Linked DNA regions of Homo sapiens: regions 2, 3, 4, 5, 6 and 7 are each linked to region 1. The links are contacts of gene promoters, found by promoter capture Hi-C in blood cells and fetal thymus (Javierre and others, 2016). All regions are on one chromosome and are shown on one strand. Each heading gives the region's core, a stretch centred on a gene start or on the middle of the fragment in contact. The rest is flanking DNA. Distances are from core to core; before and after follow the strand shown.

Evidence for each region. The method cuts DNA at HindIII sites, captures the fragments that hold promoters and counts their contacts. A CHiCAGO score of 5 or more calls a contact.
Region 2: a fragment that was not itself captured here is called in contact with the fragment with the promoter of CASD1 in region 1 in 1 of 17 cell types (naive CD8 T cells); the score reaches 6.5 in naive CD8 T cells.
Region 3: the fragment with the promoter of SAMD9 here is called in contact with the fragment with the promoter of CASD1 in region 1 in 1 of 17 cell types (naive CD8 T cells); the score reaches 6.6 in naive CD8 T cells.
Region 4: a contact is called between a fragment that was not itself captured here and the fragment with the promoter of CASD1 in region 1, in 1 of 17 cell types (M2 macrophages). The highest score is 7.1, in M2 macrophages.
Region 5: the fragment with the promoter of HEPACAM2 here is called in contact with the fragment with the promoter of CASD1 in region 1 in 3 of 17 cell types (non-activated CD4 T cells, naive CD8 T cells and total CD8 T cells); the score reaches 6.3 in non-activated CD4 T cells.
Region 6: a contact is called between the fragment with the promoter of PDK4 here and the fragment with the promoter of CASD1 in region 1, in 2 of 17 cell types (M2 macrophages and total B cells). The highest score is 5.5, in M2 macrophages.
Region 7: a contact is called between the fragment with the promoter of DYNC1I1 here and the fragment with the promoter of CASD1 in region 1, in 6 of 17 cell types (M2 macrophages, M0 macrophages, erythroblasts and 3 more). The highest score is 18.2, in M2 macrophages.

The regions. Positions count from the first base shown.
Region 1 is chr7:94,508,408-94,511,180 of GRCh38, reverse strand. It overlaps CASD1 (CAS1 domain sialic acid O acetyltransferase 1), which reads right to left and starts at 1,372. Exons shown (of 18, transcript NM_022900.5): 1 at 964-1,372. The coding sequence starts at 1,096. RefSeq lists silencers at 709-1,068, 1,169-1,318, 1,359-1,578 and enhancers at 112-1,098, 1,099-2,087. The HindIII fragment of the contact is 8,005 bases long and covers 1-2,773 here.
Region 2 is chr7:92,530,925-92,533,691 of GRCh38, reverse strand. It overlaps RBM48 (RNA binding motif protein 48), which reads right to left. Exons shown (of 5, transcript NM_032120.4): 3 at 1,143-1,288. Among named protein-coding and RNA genes, the nearest start is that of RBM48, 3.5 kb to the right of the region's middle. The HindIII fragment of the contact is 286 bases long and covers 1,348-1,633 here.
Region 3 is chr7:93,116,593-93,119,292 of GRCh38, reverse strand. It overlaps SAMD9 (sterile alpha motif domain containing 9), which reads left to right and starts at 1,314. Exons shown (of 3, transcript NM_017654.4): 1 at 1,314-1,430. The HindIII fragment of the contact is 4,352 bases long and covers 1-1,520 here.
Region 4 is chr7:95,694,651-95,697,350 of GRCh38, reverse strand. All of the region lies in intron 2 of LOC105375409 (a long non-coding RNA gene), which reads right to left. Among named protein-coding and RNA genes, the nearest start is that of DYNC1I1, 77 kb to the left of the region's middle. The HindIII fragment of the contact is 1,551 bases long and covers 521-2,071 here.
Region 5 is chr7:93,225,176-93,227,875 of GRCh38, reverse strand. It overlaps HEPACAM2 (HEPACAM family member 2), which reads left to right and starts at 1,407. Exons shown (of 10, transcript NM_001039372.4): 1 at 1,407-1,508. The coding sequence starts at 1,430. The HindIII fragment of the contact is 7,149 bases long and covers 1-2,700 here.
Region 6 is chr7:95,595,069-95,597,768 of GRCh38, reverse strand. PDK4 (pyruvate dehydrogenase kinase 4) reads left to right here and starts at 1,253. Exons shown (of 11, transcript NM_002612.4): 1 at 1,253-1,605; 2 at 2,605-2,700. The coding sequence starts at 1,476. PDK4-AS1 (PDK4 antisense RNA 1) reads right to left here and starts at 1,090. Exons shown (of 3, transcript XR_001745287.3): 1 at 986-1,090. RefSeq lists a silencer at 1,678-1,972. The HindIII fragment of the contact is 12,066 bases long and covers 1-2,700 here.
Region 7 is chr7:95,771,159-95,773,858 of GRCh38, reverse strand. It overlaps DYNC1I1 (dynein cytoplasmic 1 intermediate chain 1), which reads right to left and starts at 1,305. Exons shown (of 17, transcript NM_001135556.2): 1 at 1,086-1,305. The HindIII fragment of the contact is 2,753 bases long and covers 1-2,139 here.

The sequences.
Region 1 (2,773 bases), core at 123-2,622:
AGAGCCAAAAATAAAAGATCCTATCATTATTAATTTCCCTCTGCCTGTCAGCCTCTCTCCCAGTGACATTTTTACAAAGGAAAAAAAACAATCAATCAGCAAGGAGAAGTAAATATCCCTTGATTACTGAAAGATAATTCATTCTCAAATCAGGTCATATTTCCTTTTCCCCTTTACACCAATTTCAAAACCCATGGCCAAGGCCTGCTTTCAAAGTGCTTACAACTTGCTTTCAACTGCCCACCTTTACGCCTGTCAACCCACAACTTCCTTCCAAAAATCTGCTCTGGTGCCTTAACTTTGTAAAAAGTGTGCACTCCGAAGCCTTTAAACGTTTCTGCATCACAAAAGCTGGGTGGCACCTCTTCCATTTGGCCACAGGCATCTTTTGCCAGCTGTCGCCCTTTTGGCAAAGGAAAATGGGGGCGGCCCTTGCCGCTGTCCAACAGCCCAGACTGGGTGTTACAGGGCAGAGGCAAAATTAAACAAAGGCTAAGGAGCCGGACCCTTAAGAGGCAGGACCTGCGACCCCACTGCTGGCAGCGGTGCCCCTTGCAGGGCGGCCTTGGGCTTCATGCGCCCCGGGCTGCCCCCAAGGACCGCCTGTCCGACTTCCTGCACGCGAGCCCCTGATCTGGAGCGTCTCCCCGAACCCAGACCGCTCAGGAGCCGGACCTCAGCAGCACTTTTGGCCAGGTCCAGGGTTGGCGCCCCCGACCCCAGCGCGGGCGGCTCGGGGCGCCCAGAACCACCAGCCATTGTCCTTTGGTGGCCCCCACTGGGGTCCACTCAGTTGGCCTCGGGCGCCGGCCGCTGCTGGGGACACCTGGGGGAACCGCCTCCCCCGCGGGCCGGGCCGGCGGAAGGCCGCGTGGGCGTGTGTTGGGCGATGGGGGCGGCCTCCAGCCGCCGCGTCGCCGCCTCCCCCACGGCCTGCCCGGGCAGAGGGGAGGGCCCGCTCACCTCGGTAGCGGCGGGAGGCGAGGTGGCACGCTGCGAGCAGCAGCACGGCCACCAGCGCCAGCACCTTGGCGCTCCTCACGCTGAAGTAGTGGTTGATCTCCCGCTTGCCCAGGTTGTAGGCCAGAGCCGCCATCTTGGTTCCTCCATGACAACAGTGCGCGGCGGAGCGGGAAAGGGGCGCCGCACAGGGGCAGCACTGGGGCTGCCGCCGCTGCAGCCAGGCGAGGAGCGGCCGCCAGCTCCCCAGGCCGCCACCTGCGCCTCCCGCCGGGGAACCTGACCCCGCGGCCGCGGCGCCCCCGACCTCCGCCTGCCCCTCCTCGGCCGCGGCCGACTCGGCGGCCTCCCCCCAGCCCCGCCGCCGCTGCTCCGCCGTGCCGGTTCCCCAGGCGCCCTGGACGCCTGTCTCCTCCCCTTCCTCCTCCTCTTTAGCCTCCTGCCTTAATAGCGGCTGCGCCTGCGAGGGGGGTCCGGATGCCCAGTGCTCCGGGGTCACCGGGTCACGCGCCCCGGCGGGCGGCGGCGGCTGCGGCAGAGCCATGGGGGTGTGGGGAGAGAGTACTAGGGGTACCCGCCTGGCCCGGACGCGAGCCTTAGGGCTGTCTCCTAGTTTACTGGCCGCTACCTGAGCCCAGGTTGGGGCAATAGAACTACAGTTCCGGGAGAAAAGTACACATCGTCCCATTCCTTCCTTCCCCAACACTCCCCTTTCTCAGCCTTCTACTGCCAGAACCCGCCCAGCGGGATGCGAAGGACACCCTAAGGTCGTTTATTGTCTGGCTATCCGTGGCCTGGCTGGTCAGTCTGGCTGCCCCTGGGTGCTGGCCAGATTGGATTGATGGATCCAGTTGATGGTGCTGGCCGATGGATTGCTGGCATCCAACCCAGGAGTGAAACCAGTCTTAACACTTAACTCACCGCTCTGGCCAGTTTCTCTTAAACCGTTTTTTTAATGTCCTCAGTTTGCCCAGTTCTGGTGGGCGAAAGTACACCAAAGTTCCGAATGGAAGGTACAGAAGGAGCCTAACTTAGTGTAGGTGTTGATGAGAAAAGAGTCTGACTCTCACTTGTATTTACGCAAGTTTGGCTAGGTCGATGTGCCAAAAAAATTCGTTTTTTTTGAGAGGGAGTCTCACCCTGTCGCCCAAGCTCTAGTGCAGTGGCGTGATCTTCGCTCACTGCAGCCTCCCCCTCCTGGGTTCAAATGGTTGTCCTGCCTGAGCCTGCCGAGTAGCAGAGATTGCAGGCGCCCGCCACCACACCCGTTTAATTTTTGTATTTTAATAGAGACGGGGGTTTCACCATTTTGGTCAGGCTGGTCTCGAACTCCTGACCTCAAATGATCTGCCCATCTCGGCCTCCCAAAGTGCTGGGATTACAGGCATGAGCCACCAAGCCTAGCCAAAAAAAATTTTTCTTAATGTGCTTATGACAATCATCCCCGCTACTAACGTTGGTTAATGTTTTGTGATTCTCAATAAAGCCAGCACTCCATTTCCTTAATAAAGCATTGTTATCCCTACTCTCCTCTCGCTCCCACCCCACCTTTTTTAAATGGTTTTTCTTGTTGCCTTCCAGATGGGAATGGTTATTTACATTGCTTGCCATTCTACTTGCCTTGCCTTGTTTAGAGTGAGTCATTGTTTAGTTGGGGTGTTGTCAAGTATTCTTTACAACTTTCCCATTTAGCCATTCCTGAACTTGTGCTTATAGGCCCCTCTTAAAATTATAGAATATTAGATATGAAGGGACTGTAGAGATCTTGTCTACTCATTCCCATTCTCTTCATCCAAGGACTCTTTATTATGTT
Region 2 (2,767 bases), core at 241-2,740, 2.0 Mb after region 1:
AAGAGTTTTTGAAAAGTAAGACCACGTATACAAATGCATCTTGTAGAGGCTAGAATGCTGCAGATGAAAGAGAGCTTAACTAAAGTGTCCAAGGCCAAACAAGTCATAGTTTAATTCTGAGGTCAGCAGCACAGCAAAAAGGTCTTAAGAGGAAGGGGAGCAAATAATGAAGATAATCCTAGGCTGTCACCAACACTGAGATGATTAAAGCAGTTAAAAAGTAAACTCTGGACAGAGTCCAAAGCTTGGGTTTTAACCCTTATTTTGTCTTTAATTCATCTCTAATAATATAGGCAGGTCACAAACTTTCTGAGACTTAGTTTCCTCACCCAGAAAAATTAGGACCCAGGTCAGATAATGTCAAAGGTCTTTCTCCACATTAATATTTTATAATTTCCTTTGCCACACAAACATACAAGTTTTCCTGGTGCTATTTATTTACTTATCTTACAAGTTAGAGTTCAATGTCTGCAGATGACTGGGGATTCTCAACAGCTCTCTTACCAGATTTCTGAGTAAGTTTTCCAAGAGTTTTCCCACTTTATTTCTCTCCATCACTATGTGGTAGAACAGGCATGTGGGGGCATTTAGCCAATTGCTGGTCAAAAGTAGAACTTCTCCATGATTAGCAGTGACAACTATATGATTTGACAACTGCAAATCATAACTGCTTCTCACTGCATTCTGGTCAAAGCCTTAATTCCTTAGCATGGGACACAAGGCCCTCCATGATTCACTTCTTACCCACTTTTCTAAACTTATCTCTCACTGAAACCTTTGGGCTTTGGTTATACTGTATTAATTAAAGTTCCTTAAATGCATGATGCTCATTTATTCCTCTAAACATTTAAACATCTTGCCTGGCTTGCCTTTCCATCTTTTCCTCTCCCATTTAGTTAACGTCTACTTATCCTTTAAAATTCAGCCACTTCTCACATACTATAGGAAGTCTTCTATGAACCAATATTTCTCCCTTCTCAACCCAGATTATGTAGTGTGCTGCAGAGAACCCTGTGGTTCACAGTTACTGAATACTGTGATGGTTTACTTGCCTCTCCTACCACTAGACTGGGAATTGCATGATGACACACCTGGCAGAGTGCCTGACACACAGGAGGCATTTAGCAATATGCTTTCCATACCTTTATTTTCAGTAGTTTTTACTACATATGCCTTCCGCATTTGTAGTTTTTTTCTAGTTTCTTCAACTGTTTCAAATTCTGGAGCATAGCACACATGAAGCAATCCACCGAAGAAACTCTGTTCATCCATTTTTCTCTTGGCTGTCCTGAATGGAAATACAAGATAGCATAGTTTTTTAATCTAGATTTACTTGGGATGAAAGCTTAACTAGTATGCAATATCTGGATCTAAAGAGCAAAGTCCAGCTTTTGCTACGTGTATATATATCCTGTGGATTGGGAATTAAGATGCTCTGCTTGTGGACAGTATTCATCCCATTGATCGAGTATGTACTCGTAGAGCCTCCCCTTTCCTTCCCTTTGAGCCTCTTTGTTCCCTAGTCTTTAAACAACTAAGGACCCAGCTGGTTGGCCTGAAGTATGTAAACTGTGGTCATAAAATGGAGCTTTTCTCTGTGGCCCTGAAGAGTTGGTTCATACCCAATTAAGCTTTTTCAGCACTATGTATTTCTGTGATGGGATTCATGCCTTAAAAATCAGATGAAAGATACTATAATCATAAAACATTCAATAACTGAGGAACTATTAAATATATAACAATGAGAAAATGAGAAGAATGTTATTCAGTCAATAAATACTTACTAAACATCTATGACTGGCCAGGTACTACAATAAATTTAACTACTTCTATATCCAGGGATAATGATAAATACTTGTTGAGATTTCACCATATGCCAGGCAATGTCATAAGCGCTTCACTTGAATTAACACCTAAAAACAACACTGTAATGAAACTGAAGCACTGGGACATTATGTAACTTAGCCATGCTCATAGTCTGGTTTGAGGAGCAAGGATTCAAATCCAGATGTCTTACTTCAGAGCCTACCAGACTACGTACTATAGAAAACAGAAAAGCTCTAGAAAATGTTTCCCTAACCATGGGAGCTGGCAGGTTGGTTAAGAAAGTGAAATTACATATAACAGCAGCCTGAGAAAACCACACAAGACCCAGTAAAATCAAGTGCTTTTGTGGTAGACTATGAGTTCTACTGATAGCACAAGAAAGAAAATATGAATTGTAATAGCCAGAGAAGGATGGGTCTCAGAGCAGATTAGTGAGGAGAACAGAGATCAATATAAAAATAGATAAGGCACTGCATACTTCAGCCTTTTTGGAGCAGAGGATTATGTCACATAGAAGGCTGGAAAAAACTGAGTCAGTTTGCAGAAAGGAGTAACAGTAGAAACCACAATAGCTAATGTTTACTGTATTCTGACCAGGATACACCTTTATATGGATTATCTCATTTCATCCTCATACAACCCCAAGAAGTAGATAGGTCCCTTTACCATACAGATTTTATGGAAGAGGAAAAACTTAAACAGGTTAAATAACTTGCCCAAGATCATGAAGCTAGTAAGCAGTGGAAATGGAAAACTTACTCCAAACCCAACTTTTTTTTTCTTTTGAGACAGAGTCTCACTCCATCACCCAGGATGGAGTGTAGTGGCCCATAAGACTCACTGCAACCTCCACCTCCTGGGCTCAACTGATTCTCCTACCTCGGCCTCCCAAGTAGCTGGAACTACAGGAATGCACCAACACACCCAGCTTGATTTTTGT
Region 3 (2,700 bases), core at 65-2,564, 1.4 Mb after region 1:
GCTGCAGTAATTCTTGAAGCAAAAGTTCATGATGTGAGTCTCCACATGCTGTCCTGTCTGTCCCAGCAGGAGCTGCAAGCTAGTCCTGCCTCCTCACCCTCACAGAACCACCAGAATAATGTTTGACCAAATATCTAGGCACTCTGTGGCCCGGTCAAGTTGACCCATAAAATTAACCATCACACTGGTCCCCATGCAAAGTGAAACCCAGGTTTTGGAGTTCAGGCCCAGGGTCCCCTTACGAGGAGGGCTCCTGAGGGTGATAAGTGTAATGGTCATATCTAGGCTGTCCTTCATAGCCACTTTCTTTCTTCCTAAACCTCAGGATTTAAGAGCACTGGCCTGAAACCTGGATTCGAATCTCTGCCATGTATTAGTTATGCAAACTTTAGCCATATTATTTAATCTCTATGCCTCAGTTTCTTCACCTTTAAAATTGAGATAAAAATAATCTCTACCTCAGGAGATTGTTGTGAAGAGTAATTAAGTTAATATGAAACATTTAGAACAATGCCTGGTACATGGTAAGCGCCCAATAAATATTTTAAAATAAATGTTTTTAAATGTTTTCATCTAAAACCAGTGTGAATCAGTTGTGGGATGTGGAAACCAAAAGCTAATTGAGCACACACAATAAATATCAGTACTTGCTGTTAGTTTTTAAAATATCAGCTATTTTTGTTGCTCTCACTCAGGCAGTTTTCTCTCTGGCCCTGACACTGACCTTAGAAAAGATAAATCTCTACAATGTGACCATCAGGTCTGCTGCAGCCCTGGTCTGCTCTGCAATAAATGAATTTAGCACTTATTGGGGTGCTCAAAGAAGTCCTATCCCTGAAAGACATTCTTTACACTTTAGGAAAACAGGAATGGACAGTAACTCCACCCTTAAAGGCCAGTGAAATATTGACCTAGAGTATCTCCAACCTGGTGCTCTACAAGGCTGGGACTGCAATGTAAACTCATATTCCCAAGGGATCAATTAAGCCAGAATATCCCACAGTTTGTCTATAACAAGACAATGGGGCTTTCTGCAGCCCTCAAAACTCTCAAGTGAGGAAAAATTGTTAAGCCTTCAGATTTTAACCAAGCAGACCAGAAGGTGGTATATAGCCATAGCTTATTAAAAAGCATTTCAGATAGAAAAGGCGGTGCTGTAATTTCAGATCTGAGAAATGAAACTGAAACCAAACCTATATTCTTCCTTCCCCAACCTCCCAGTTGTTAAACACGCCCTGCTGTTTCTGAGCCAATTAGAGCTTGCTGTGAGACAGAAGCAGAGAATACATAGACTTCCGTTAAAACCAGAATGAGGAAAATACTTTTCTCTAGCATCGTAGGAGGAAGAAAACAAACACATCAGATATTTTCAGCACTAAAAGAGATGGTTTTCCCCACATATATGTAAAAGAAATTTGCAAGACTACTGGGTAAGTACAATATCTATTATTAATATTGTTCTTACTATCTATAGCAGCATTTTATTGAATAGAAAGAAATATACTTTTCAATTAGAAGCTTCAAATATACCTCAAAACAAAAAATAGTATTCTAAGCCTAGAAATTCTAGACTATTTGTTGCTCTGACAGCAGTCTGCTTTATATTAGTTGAAAAATTAGTCATAACATTTCATTAAAGATGCAGTTGAAAACTACAGACACTTTTATTGATGAACTCTCCCAAGGCATACAGCATCTTCAGAAAGAACAAACAGGCCAGGTGTGGTAGCCTGTAATTTGAGCACTTTGGAAGGCAAGGACAGGAGAATTGTTTGAGGCCAGGAATTCAAAATTAGCTTGGGCAACATAGCAAGACCCTACCTAGCAAGATTCCTACCAAAAAAAAAAATAGCTGGATGTGGTGGCACGCAGCTGCAGTCTAGCTACTTTGGAGGCTGAGGCAGAAGGATTGCTTGAGCCCAGGAATTTAAGGTTACAGTGAGCTGTAATTGTACCACTGCACTCCAGCATAGGCAACAGAGTGAGACACTGTCTCAAAAACAACAACAACAACAACAACAACAACAACAACAAACGGAAAGATAGATAAAGAACAGGCAATGAAAACTTAAAAGTACTTTACTTTAATCAAATACAACTTCCACCATCTACTCTAAGAAATAGGTAGCTTCCAGAAAACAAAACTCTCTGAGAGCTTCTCAGATATTGTTGTCGGATGACATACATAGGAAGACAGACAGACAGATAGACTACTATGGGAAGTCTTTGGAATTAAGGCAGCTTTATGTTCCTGGCAAAAATACTAGGTTTATGTCTAATTTCTCCCCAAAGCAAACAGTAAGATAATGCAAGACGGTTGGAGGATCACATTTCTGAATAAAGGTCTGACCTTCAACTCCCTTCTAGAAAAGTTAACAAACCCTACAGTTTAACACCAACCAGAGTTAAAAAATGTATGTGGGTTCAATCAGTAACAAATAGTGTTTCCTACTAAGATGCTCAGAACCAAATTTTCAGGTCAGTTTTTAAAGTATACGGAATCAAAACCAGTAATTTTAGGTACTAATTTTACTCCCTCATTTCACCTTTTCTCCCCCTACCCTTATTTAGCCTTCCCCATGATTTCTTTACCTAAGGGTTTTAATATATGTGTGATCCTATATTACTTTCTAAATTACCTAAAAAACATTTTGGAACGAGAGGGTATAAAGAAATCATTAATATGTAAAATATCTATGA
Region 4 (2,700 bases), core at 47-2,546, 1.2 Mb before region 1:
CCCCCATTCACACCACCAAATAAATTTTACAAAGCTTTCAAGAATAAACTTTAGTTAAGAGAATAGATATGACACATCACAATCCAATGTGAGTAATGTCACTGGTGTCAGTTTTGCCTCTTCAATAGAAATATATACTACTAAATTGATTTTATTTTCTTCAATGTCCTATAATTTTCTTTTATCAGGTCTGTTCCAGTTACTCATTTGGAATTTGCTGTTAAAGATACTTCATGTTCTGGGAAGACAACTGGCTGATCCTAGGCTTCATTTTACCAGGACTCCTACAGAAATGCTTCCTCCTAACAGTTTAAATTTTTCTTTTCATTTCGTTTATGCATACTCAGGCATTTTTCCTGAAATTATTGATATTTATGATTCTGTATGTAGTAATGCTATTATAACATTATTTGCACAATTACATTTTAATAGATAATATAGGAAAAATGTGATCAGGAAAGATAAAAGAATGCCATGTTTCTAGTTTAGAGCTCTGGGTTTTGTCTCTGTAGTCTAAGCTTATCCTTACTGTTTTTGATAGTAACAGTCCCTTCCTTTTTTCCCTTTGTTGGAACAGCAGAAGTTCTTTACTTTTGGGCTGCATGAAAGCCATTTATCCCTATGTGGTCTACTATTCTGTCTCATGGGGCTTACCTATTCTTAAGATGGTTCTATCTATTTCTTTTCATGTCTAGAATAAGCAGAAGTTCTTCTTATTCTTTCTTTTATTTTCTATTAGGTTCTTCGGTGTGTCCTCAACTCCCCTACCTTCCCCATCAGTTCCTTCTTTTTTTTTTTCTTTTGGTCTATTTCTTTTAGATCTGCTCTAGTACCAAATAATCTCCACATTTTTCAGTAGTCTAATAACAGTGTCCTTACCATGTTTATCTCAACTGGGACATCATTACATCCCACCTGTATTTTTAGTTGCTCTTATAATTGTAGTTGGATCTGGGGACATCCTGCCTTGTAAGTGTACTAACCTTAATTACACTTACATAAACAACAATTCATCTTATATGTGTGCATTACGCCCATGCTCTCTCTCCCAGTTTTATCAGTATTGTTTTACTTTTCTGAAACCCTTCCACAGTTTAGCTGTTAAGCTCTTGTTTGGATTTTACCATCTAATTTTCCACCCTGCAAACATCCACTTCAGATAATGACTGAATATTTCACTGATATTTTCAGATATTGAAATAATGACTATCTTTTGTCTGTGACCTGTATGTTGTCTGAATTCCACCCCTTCCTTTGCTTTTTAATGTTAGTGTGGTAGTGTCAAGGAACATGATATCCATATATCCATTTATTGCCATGTGGTTTCTAATTCTCTAACTTGATATCTGAATTCTTTAGCAATATTTTGTAATTAATAATATTGTGTATTATATATTTGCCATATTTTGTATTTATTATTCTGTGGTTGAACCTATTTTATGCTCGCTATAGCATAGATTTTTTTTTTAGTAATCATGACTGGTCACTCTCTGTAAATCCTGTCATATGGATTGTTGAAATCTCCCATTAGAGTGTTAATTGACGGGCCCAGAACACCCTGGGGTCATTATATTCATCAAAATATTTATGATATGCAGCACCATCTGTTGGAAACAGAGGTTTATTTCTTCTCTTTTTTCCTAATTCTGTCTAGATCCTCCACTGTTTCAAATCATAATTATCACATCCTTTACTGTCTAGTTTTCTCTTATCCATTTGGTCTAAGCATCTTGGGAGTAGAAAATCAACTCACCTTCTATTTTAGGTTTAAACATAACTGTGTATATTTCTAGTAACTATTTGTTTACTTTTAAAAATCATGTCTGCTTAGTCTGTTACACTAGTAAATATTCCTTTACTGAGTTACAATATCTTTTAAATTTATTCGTGTTTTAAGATTGCTAATGAATTTCTTTCAGTTCTTGATCTCAAATTCTATTTTGCTTTAGTCTTATACACATACAGAAGCATATCATTCTAAAAACATGATGCTGTGCATATATACATAAAGCTAACAGAGATTCAGAAGAACATTTACATTCTGAAGGTGCAAAAAGGTCAGGCTCAAGCTTAATAACAATCCCGGAGGAGAAAATGTCATGTCATTATGTGGATAAATGCATCTTATTATCAGGTACAAAAAAATGTATAAATATAATTTGTGATATGTTTCCTGGAAAATGAAATAGACAAATCAAGAGTTTCAAAAAATGGTCCCAAATCATGAGTTCAGTGAGGAGTGGAGAGATGCGGCTGTACTAGTTTGATATTAAGAGATGCAAGGAATCTAAATTAGGCTTGGTGTGAGGAGCTTGTTTGTAGAAAAGTGAATAAAAGGTGATAATGCATCATGGTGGGGTGGGGTTGAAACAGTGAGTCTATGGGGTGAGTGCAGTAATATCAAAGGATACATTAAATGGCAAAAATGCACTGGTTAAAGATTACCGAGAACCAGCTGTGTGCCAGGCTGCAAATTCAGCAGGTTACATGTACTCGCTCTCATACTACACCAGCTCTGCAAAATGGGCAGGGTTGTGCATATTTACACATGAAGAAACTAATATTTCATATTTACACATGAAGAAACTCGTGTTTCAGAGATACTTTTTTTCATTTACCTAAAACAGCAGAGAGAAAACATGAAGCCAAGTGTTTGAGGCTCTGAAACTACATTTATCTCATCACTCTGCTCTATGGTTA
Region 5 (2,700 bases), core at 158-2,657, 1.3 Mb after region 1:
TTATGCTACGTGCCCAACATCCATGAATGAATAAGATTATTCTCTGTATTCGAGAGCTCAGAGGGAAAATAAACATCCAATAAAATAAAGATTAAGGAGATAAGTGCTGCAATAGATGTGTGTACCAGATTTAGAGACAGTGCAGAGAAAGTTGTGGCATTGTTATTATTTTGCAGGGAGGTGGGGGAAGCATGAGGAGCTCTTGCCATTTTTCTGAAGCATGGAGGGATCTGAAAGTGACTGATCTCTGAAGAGGACTTCGTTTTCCCAATAGTCACTTACTTTCTTTGCTTATAGAAGTCCTTCTAGAAGAGTTCAGAGCCCTAATGCAAAGAGTGTTTCCAAACTTGGATTCCAAAGTTACTATCATTCCTTTTTTACTTTAATTATGCTTGAGGTATAGTCTTCCTTCCCCTCTTATCATTGAACTTCTTCAGTGGGCCTTTACTGTTAAAACTGATGCATGCAAGGAATTTTCCTTGATTTGATGATTTGATGCAGATTTGGATATATCCTTAACATTTTATATAACAAGGCTAGAACCAGAGCCTTCTTGCAAATAGGGGTTAACTAATAACTTAGTAAATTAAGCGGACATGCTTAGACTATCTGCTGCCATGACAATGGAGAGACCAGGTTGAAAACCTGTAACCTGGACACTGCAGTAGAGGTAAGATCTTTTCTAGATCATTGGTTCACTTCCTCTATGCATCAGCTGTGAAAATGTGGCCTCAGATACTATCTCCTGGCATGCACTTTTCATTATAATTATGCATGGTCCATGCCTCAGTCCCAGTTGGAAACACACCTGTGATTTGCTTTTAAAAATAAGATGAATTCAAAGATTAAATGAAATCAGTCATTGTAATAGGAAACACTGCATAGAAAAAATACGTTTTAAATATATTCTGGATCTCTCTTTTGATTCATTGGTAGAATTTTTACATGTTAGTGACTTCATGAAGATTTATAACTGTTTAGCAGATACATGAGCTACTTCAATTTTCATATAATTTTTTTTAATTTTAAAATAATAATGGCATAGTTCTGCATGATAGAAAACCAGCTTTTGTTTTTAAGGAAATCTCACAATATTCTTTCATTATGAAAACATGCCATTTTTCAGTAAAGTCACGCAAAAGGATGTTTTCCTTCATGTGATTTTTTAATAACTAAGTATAATTTATGAAATATATAGACAATTACTGGTAGTTGCTAAGAAACTCTTCTGAAAGCCATAAGCCTGTATTCTTGCTAAGCACATAACAGGTGTTCCCACTCCCTGTGTCCTTTGTATACACATTCATTCTGTATTCAAATCACAGAAGCAAGAGGCAAGATAGGGTCTGTTACCTCACTGCTAATTTCCCTAGCAAATAAACCAGCAGCTGCTGGTCCAAGTTACCACTGAGAACAGGGCACTGCATGCATGGGACAGGATGCTTTCATGGAGCCCTTCGGTGACACACTTGGGGTCTTTCAGTGCAAAATATACCTCCTTCTCTTCGGTAAGGCCCTGTGTGAATTGTGTTTTAGCTGTTTGTTAGGTTTTTTTTTTTTAATTGTGGACATAAGGTAAATATTTGCTTTAGGCTGTAGATGCATTCAGATAATTGAAGAGCAGGTCAGAACCTTTTAACAATAACACACTGTTACAGCAAAGAAGCAGGAACATTTAAGAGAAATGAGTTTCAATAAATAGATTGTTATTGTTTTCTTGGAACAACAATTATTGTCATAGCACTCATTAAGATAATTCAGATATTTTTAAAAGATAATGAATTTCTTCTTTTAGAGTTTACATATAGGTTCAATAGTCTTTAATGCATTTATTTCAGCAAATATTCTAATAGGCCATGAAATTGTGACCACTTAGAGTGAAACTACAAATAATTTACGAAAATTGTTTTCTTTTTAATTAAAGATATTGTTGCAAACTGTTTACTGCTTCGTTTTAAGTTATCTGTCTCATCTTATGAAATATGGAAGAAAGGTAAGATTCCAAACTAACAAAAAAATTTCCTACACAAAAGGGAGAACGTATTTGAAAAGATTGTTACTCCAAAATGCCTTTAGCTTTTCTCTTTGCCCAATGGCTAGTCCTATTAAGAATTTTTTTCTACCTTAATATTTTCCCTCATTCTCCTCTTTATCTTTTGAGTTTAAAGGAGTCTCTTTCCAGCATTCCAACTGCTGTCTGTCAACATTATTTTCACCAGATGTTCTCATTTCCATTCTTCCTATTTATCAGTTTTAAAAGTCAAATCAATTTCTTGTTTTGTTTATATTCAACAGATAGGAGTTCAATTAAGGCTACATTTTTTAAAAATTAAGAACAGCTTAGCAAAATAAGCAATTTAACTTTTAGGCTTCTTCAGCTATTTAGAGCTTTACTTTCACTCCTATATTTTGTTAAAGTTTGCATTGTAAATGTTATTATTCAAATTCATACCTACTGTTGTACCTATCTCACACATTTGAAATGTACAGTTTGTAAATTTTTTTAAGTCTTTGAGTTTCCCAGAGTTGTGATTGTTCCAGTTATCACAGTATTTATGTTATCAAATTTAAGCCTATAATAGATTTTTGTTTTCTAAAATTTTTTGAAAAAGTAAATAATTATTATAACTGTCACTACCTTTGTGCATTTGTCTTCCTTTTGAAAGTATCCTGGGTCATCATCCCACTTATTTTTATATT
Region 6 (2,700 bases), core at 4-2,503, 1.1 Mb before region 1:
TATCATTTTTAACACCTCATAAATTCCCATTCTATTACATTTGTAACCAACTCTCTTACTCCCAACTTTCCCAAACACGGTGGCTTCATTCCCTAGTCCTTTTAGAGTGTCGGGAGAGGAAAAGGAGGTTAGTATGACAGGGTAATGTGTCTCAACCACTGTCATTAATTTAATAAATATTGAGTAGTGAAAAAGTAGGAATCACAAAGCTGCATCAGACAGGGTCCCTACCCTGATCTCTTTCAGGAAAGGGGGGAGTCAGAGAGGGATAATATAAAAACATAAATAGCTATAGAATAGTACCATGAAAGACCAAGGCCTTATTTGGAAGAAGTGAGGAGAAGTAATCAAGGAAGACCTTTTGCAGCAGACAGCTTGTGCCAGACATTTGAGGGTAGAATGGAATGTCTTAGGTAAAGATTTGGAGTAAGGACATTTCGTACAGGGCAGAGTGAACAAATTCTCTGATCACCGCAAAAGGTAAGGCAAACTGACAAATTGATCCCTTTTTAATTTTGTTTTTAATTAACAGAACTAAACCTAACGGAAAGAATGTGTTGCCGGAGAAGAACGAATTGATGGCCTTTTATTACCACAGGAAAAAGTAAATGTATCTGGGCAGCCCCTCAAGTCTCAGCAAAAGGAACGTACAGTTCCTGCCATGTGCCGGTCTCTTCTGAAGAAAAGGGGGCGGTGGGGGTGGGGGCGCAGGTCTTTAGGTTGTTTATTCCTTTCTCTCTGTCCAGTGGCAGAGAAGCCCATACTTTTGAACGCAGCTTGTTGGCTACTGTAAAAGCCCTGCTCTGAGCAAGGACCAATGAGCACGCGGAGTCCAAACTCTTGGAAACAGTTTGTGGCCAGGAGTACTTGACATTGAGACAGCCTCCGAGTTGTAAACAAGGGCGAGCCTGGGCGGGACCCCAGCCCACGCGACTCGGAGCCCCGTCCCAAGAGGCTAATCTTAAGCCCACGTTGCCCCAGATACCTGTTTCTGCTTCCTCTTCCCTGTTCTTCCCACCCTTTTTCCGTCACAGCCGCGGGCACCGGTGCCAGGGCACTCCGTGGTCACCGTGCCAGGCCATTCTGTGATGACCGCGGCTGGAGGGGCGGAGCCCATAGTTCTTTCTCTGATCTGATTGGCGCGACCTGGAGTTCAGGACGCGTTTCCAAGTTCCAGTGACTCCTCCTGTTTGGGACTCGGGGGGAGAGTGCGGGGAGACAAATAAAACCTCGGGCGGCGGCGGCTGGTGGGAAGACTTGAACTTGAATCTCGAACCACTGCATCTCCGACTCTGCCCAGACTCTTCACTCCGCGGCACCCTCAAACCCCAGCCCAGGCCGGGGCGCACAAGCCAGCCAGCGCACCTGCAGTCCTCGCCCGGACGCGCCGCGCCCCCTCGGAACCAGGCTCTGCTCCGAGCAGCCTTCGCCCCTCAAGCCAGCCACAGTCCCCGCCAGGCCGGGTGGGCGTCAAGATGAAGGCGGCCCGCTTCGTGCTGCGCAGCGCTGGCTCGCTCAACGGCGCCGGCCTGGTGCCCCGAGAGGTGGAGCATTTCTCGCGCTACAGCCCGTCCCCGCTGTCCATGAAGCAGCTACTGGACTTTGGTGAGAGGGGACACAGGGCCCAAGCTGGGTCCTAGGGTTGGGGAACTGCCTTAACTTTCAGCCTTGGTAGAGGGAGGGCTAGGCTCAAGCTAAAACAACTGGGGTTCACTTTGCTGCTGAGCCCTGGAGCCTCGACGCCAGCACACCTTTCCTTTTCCTAGATTTGGTTACTTTCTGACAGGGGTGCCTCCAGGTCAAGGCCACCTGCAAGCCTGCCGACGCTGGATGGTTTGACTTCATCTGCACACTCTTCTTTCTGACCCGCTCTTCCAGTCAAAATACTTTTTGCTTTCGGTCACCGTTTAACAATGGACTGGAAACTTTATCCTCTCCTTCACAGCATAGTACTGCTTGGAGAAGTTTCTGAATAGTATTAAATAGCCTCAAATTAACAGATTTTATTCCTTAGCCACCTGGCATCCTTCCACAGGGTACATCTCTCTGCATTCCTGACAGATTTCTTTGTCTCTTTATCATTATAGTTTTCCATATATTTGCATTGTTGCTGAAAATATTTACACATTTGTTGCAGTAATCTTATAAGGAAGATTTCAAGGGTTTAAATGTGATATCACTACTCTGGAAATATCACAGCTCCCCCTCCAGCCTCTTATCCCCCAACTCCAATTCCATGTCCCCACTCATTAAAGGATGTTGTGTTGTTGACATTGTGGTGTGACCGAATCCTGCAGTCTTTTATAAATTCTAAGAACTGTGGGATATTCTTACTTCTTGGAAGTGAATCCTCTTCAAAAAGAGAAGACAATAATTCTCCTATATCTGTCACTTTTTAAAAGAAAGAAGGAAAGACGAAAGGACGAAGGGAATTAGTCAATTAAGGAGACAATCGCCCCTGAATTATCGATTAACAGTAACCCAACTGAGAGTGAAATATAATTTTATAATATATGTGTGTTCAATATTTGATAGTTAATGCTATTTAGATATATCATTTAGACACACTTTTTCTCAAAACTAAATTGATTTCATTTATTATAGGTTCAGAAAATGCATGTGAAAGAACTTCTTTTGCATTTTTGCGACAAGAATTGCCTGTGAGACTCGCCAACATTCTGAAGGAAATTGATATCCTCC
Region 7 (2,700 bases), core at 56-2,555, 1.3 Mb before region 1:
ATTAAAGTATGTACACAGACTGGTTACCCATGTCTGTGTTAACATCAGGCGTTGGGTTGTCACCTGCAGTTGCCTATGCCTTACTGTTAGCTATACTTTTTGCTAATCTGGAATATTTGGAAGCAATTCTTCACAACTCTGAACTACAATAAGTCTACAATGCCCACTTGAAAGGCATTCCAAGCAAGAAAATGGCTGGCTACTTGTTCCTGCCCCTTACCTAGGATTAGTAGAGGCCAGAATAGCGAATATATTCCATCTTCTGCATGTTGTTGAGTCTCTGATCTCCTATGTAATTTCCTGTCCTGATCCTGGGCTTCTGTTTAATCTTATTAGCCAAGGTACAAGTCATGAGACTCCCGCACACTCAGTTCCCATCAGCGCTGCCAGGATCACTGCCCTTATGATGACGACGCACGGATTTATAAGGCCAGAGCGATTCCGAATGGGAGCGGGGGAAGGAGAGCCAGGCGGCCGTGAAGGTGTTTACCAAAACAACATCCCCCAGCCACACTTTTTCGCAGCAGAGAGAAACTGGCATCTTCTCGCTTTGAAGTGTTTAATTAATGCCCTGCTGGAAGTGAATTCGCTCCCTCCGACTTGCAGGGTAGTGACAGCATCTAAGAGCTTTGCAGACAGCTCGAAATGTAATCAAACAGCATCCTTTCCCCTCCCTCTGCAGCTTTCCCCCTCCTCCAGGGGCAGTCAGCCGGTGGCCCAGAGGGGTGCAGATTTCAGCGCCGCTCGCCCACTGCTCCCCCGGGGAAGACCGAGGCGGGGCGCACTGGGACGCCCTTCCCAGCCCACAAGGTGGGCGACCAGGTGGTGACACCACGACCCTTCCTTCTCTGCCCTAGTCTCTCGGCTCTGCCGAGAGGGGGGTGTCACTGGGGGGCTTTGGCCGCCTTCGGGCTCAGCGGAGCACGCAGGAGCCTGGGCAGGGGGCCAGGACAAGGGTCCGGCTGCGGCTGCAGGGGCCTCGGCTCCAGCCTGGTTCCCAGCGCAGACGACACCGGGGTGGGGAGGGTTGGGGAGAGGTGCGGAGGCGGCCGTCCGGGGAGCGGCGACATCCCGCTCCAGTTTACCTGGACGCGCTCGGCAGCGGCGGAACTGGGCTCCCCGAGCCGGCGGCGGCTCCTGGGCGGCGGCAGCGTTGGTGCAGGCGGCTCCCGAAGGTGGCGGGGCCGGCGCGGGCAGGATGTGCTGTCTCACGCTGCGCCGGCCGCTCGGCTCGCGCTCCTCCGGGAGCGATCACTTCCTCTCTCCCAGAGCCTGACACTGACAGCTCCCCGGAGCACTCAGTCTGCGGGGCTCGCCCCGCCCCCTGCCCACGCCCTCCACGCCCGCGCCCCTCCTGAGGGAGGGCCTCCGCTCCGCGTCTTCCGCGCCCGGTCTCGCCAGGAGGGGGTGGCGCCGCTCCGTAGGCTGGTGGCGAGCAGAGGACCTGGAAAGGTCAATTCGTCTATCCCTCTAACGTCGGTAGGACTTAGACCTCAGTTGCTGCAAAGAGAAGAGCTTCAATATTCTGGGAGCTCCTGCTGAAATGCCACCATTGAACAACTTTCACTCCCAGGCAACTACACTTCTTAAGGTCATTTAAATAGAAATAAAGCTCAGATCTACCTGTTGTACACAATGACTTATAGGTCTGATTGATCCCAATTTTTCTAGAAGAAAAAAGAATTAAGTGTGTGTGTCTGTGTGTGTGTGTGTGTGTGTGTGTGTGTGTGTGGTGTGGTGTGTGTGTAGCTTGTCTTCACATTGCTTCTTAAAGTCCCAGCTTTTAAAAATCTGGGTAACTGGCCAGACGCGGTGGCTCACGCCTGTAATCCAAGCACTTTGGGAGGCCGAGGAGGGCGGATCACCTGAGGTCGAGAGTTGGGGGACCAGCCTGACCAACATGAAAAAACCCCGTCTCTACTAAAAATACAAAATTAGCCGGGCGTGGTGGTGCATGCCAGTAATCCCAGCTACTCGGGAGGCTAAGGCAGGAGAATGGTTGAACCCGGGAGGCGGAGGTTGTGGTGAACCGAGATCCCGCCACTGCACTCAAAGCCTGGGCAACAAGAGCGAAACTCCGTCTCGGGGAAACAAAAAAAAATCTGGGTAACTATTATTGGACTCTGCAAAAAACAAGCTTGCCACAACAGCTAAGTTATAAGGCCAAAAAATTGAGTTTGGGATGTTAGGGGGTTTGGTATCATTTTATAGATGAGCTTTTCATCATATTTCTTGCACATCTGTGGTGTATTTTTACACATTAGAATGTAAATTAGTGGAGGGCAGGGACGCTATCTTGTTCACTGCTGTATTCTTAGTATCTAGAACAGCATTCTGATATATAATGGGTACTCAGTAAATATTTATGAACTTATTAATTCACAAGTACTACAGTAATTTCAAAATAAATACAGATTCTAGTATGAATACAGTATGAATACATACTCATCTGTAAATGGCCATCCTTATTCTAAAACTTTGGCCTCCCTGGCTAATCTACTGCGATTGTAACTATGGCTAGAAATGAAGAGGTTAAATGTCTAGGTAGAAGGTATTCAAGGTATTCCAGAAGGAAAAATCTAGGAAATAAATATTTGCCACTACCGTGACTGAATATTTAATACATGTCAATTCTACATACATTTTTCTTTAACTTTTCTATAACATTATGTAGTACATATAACGAATGCCATGCCTCCA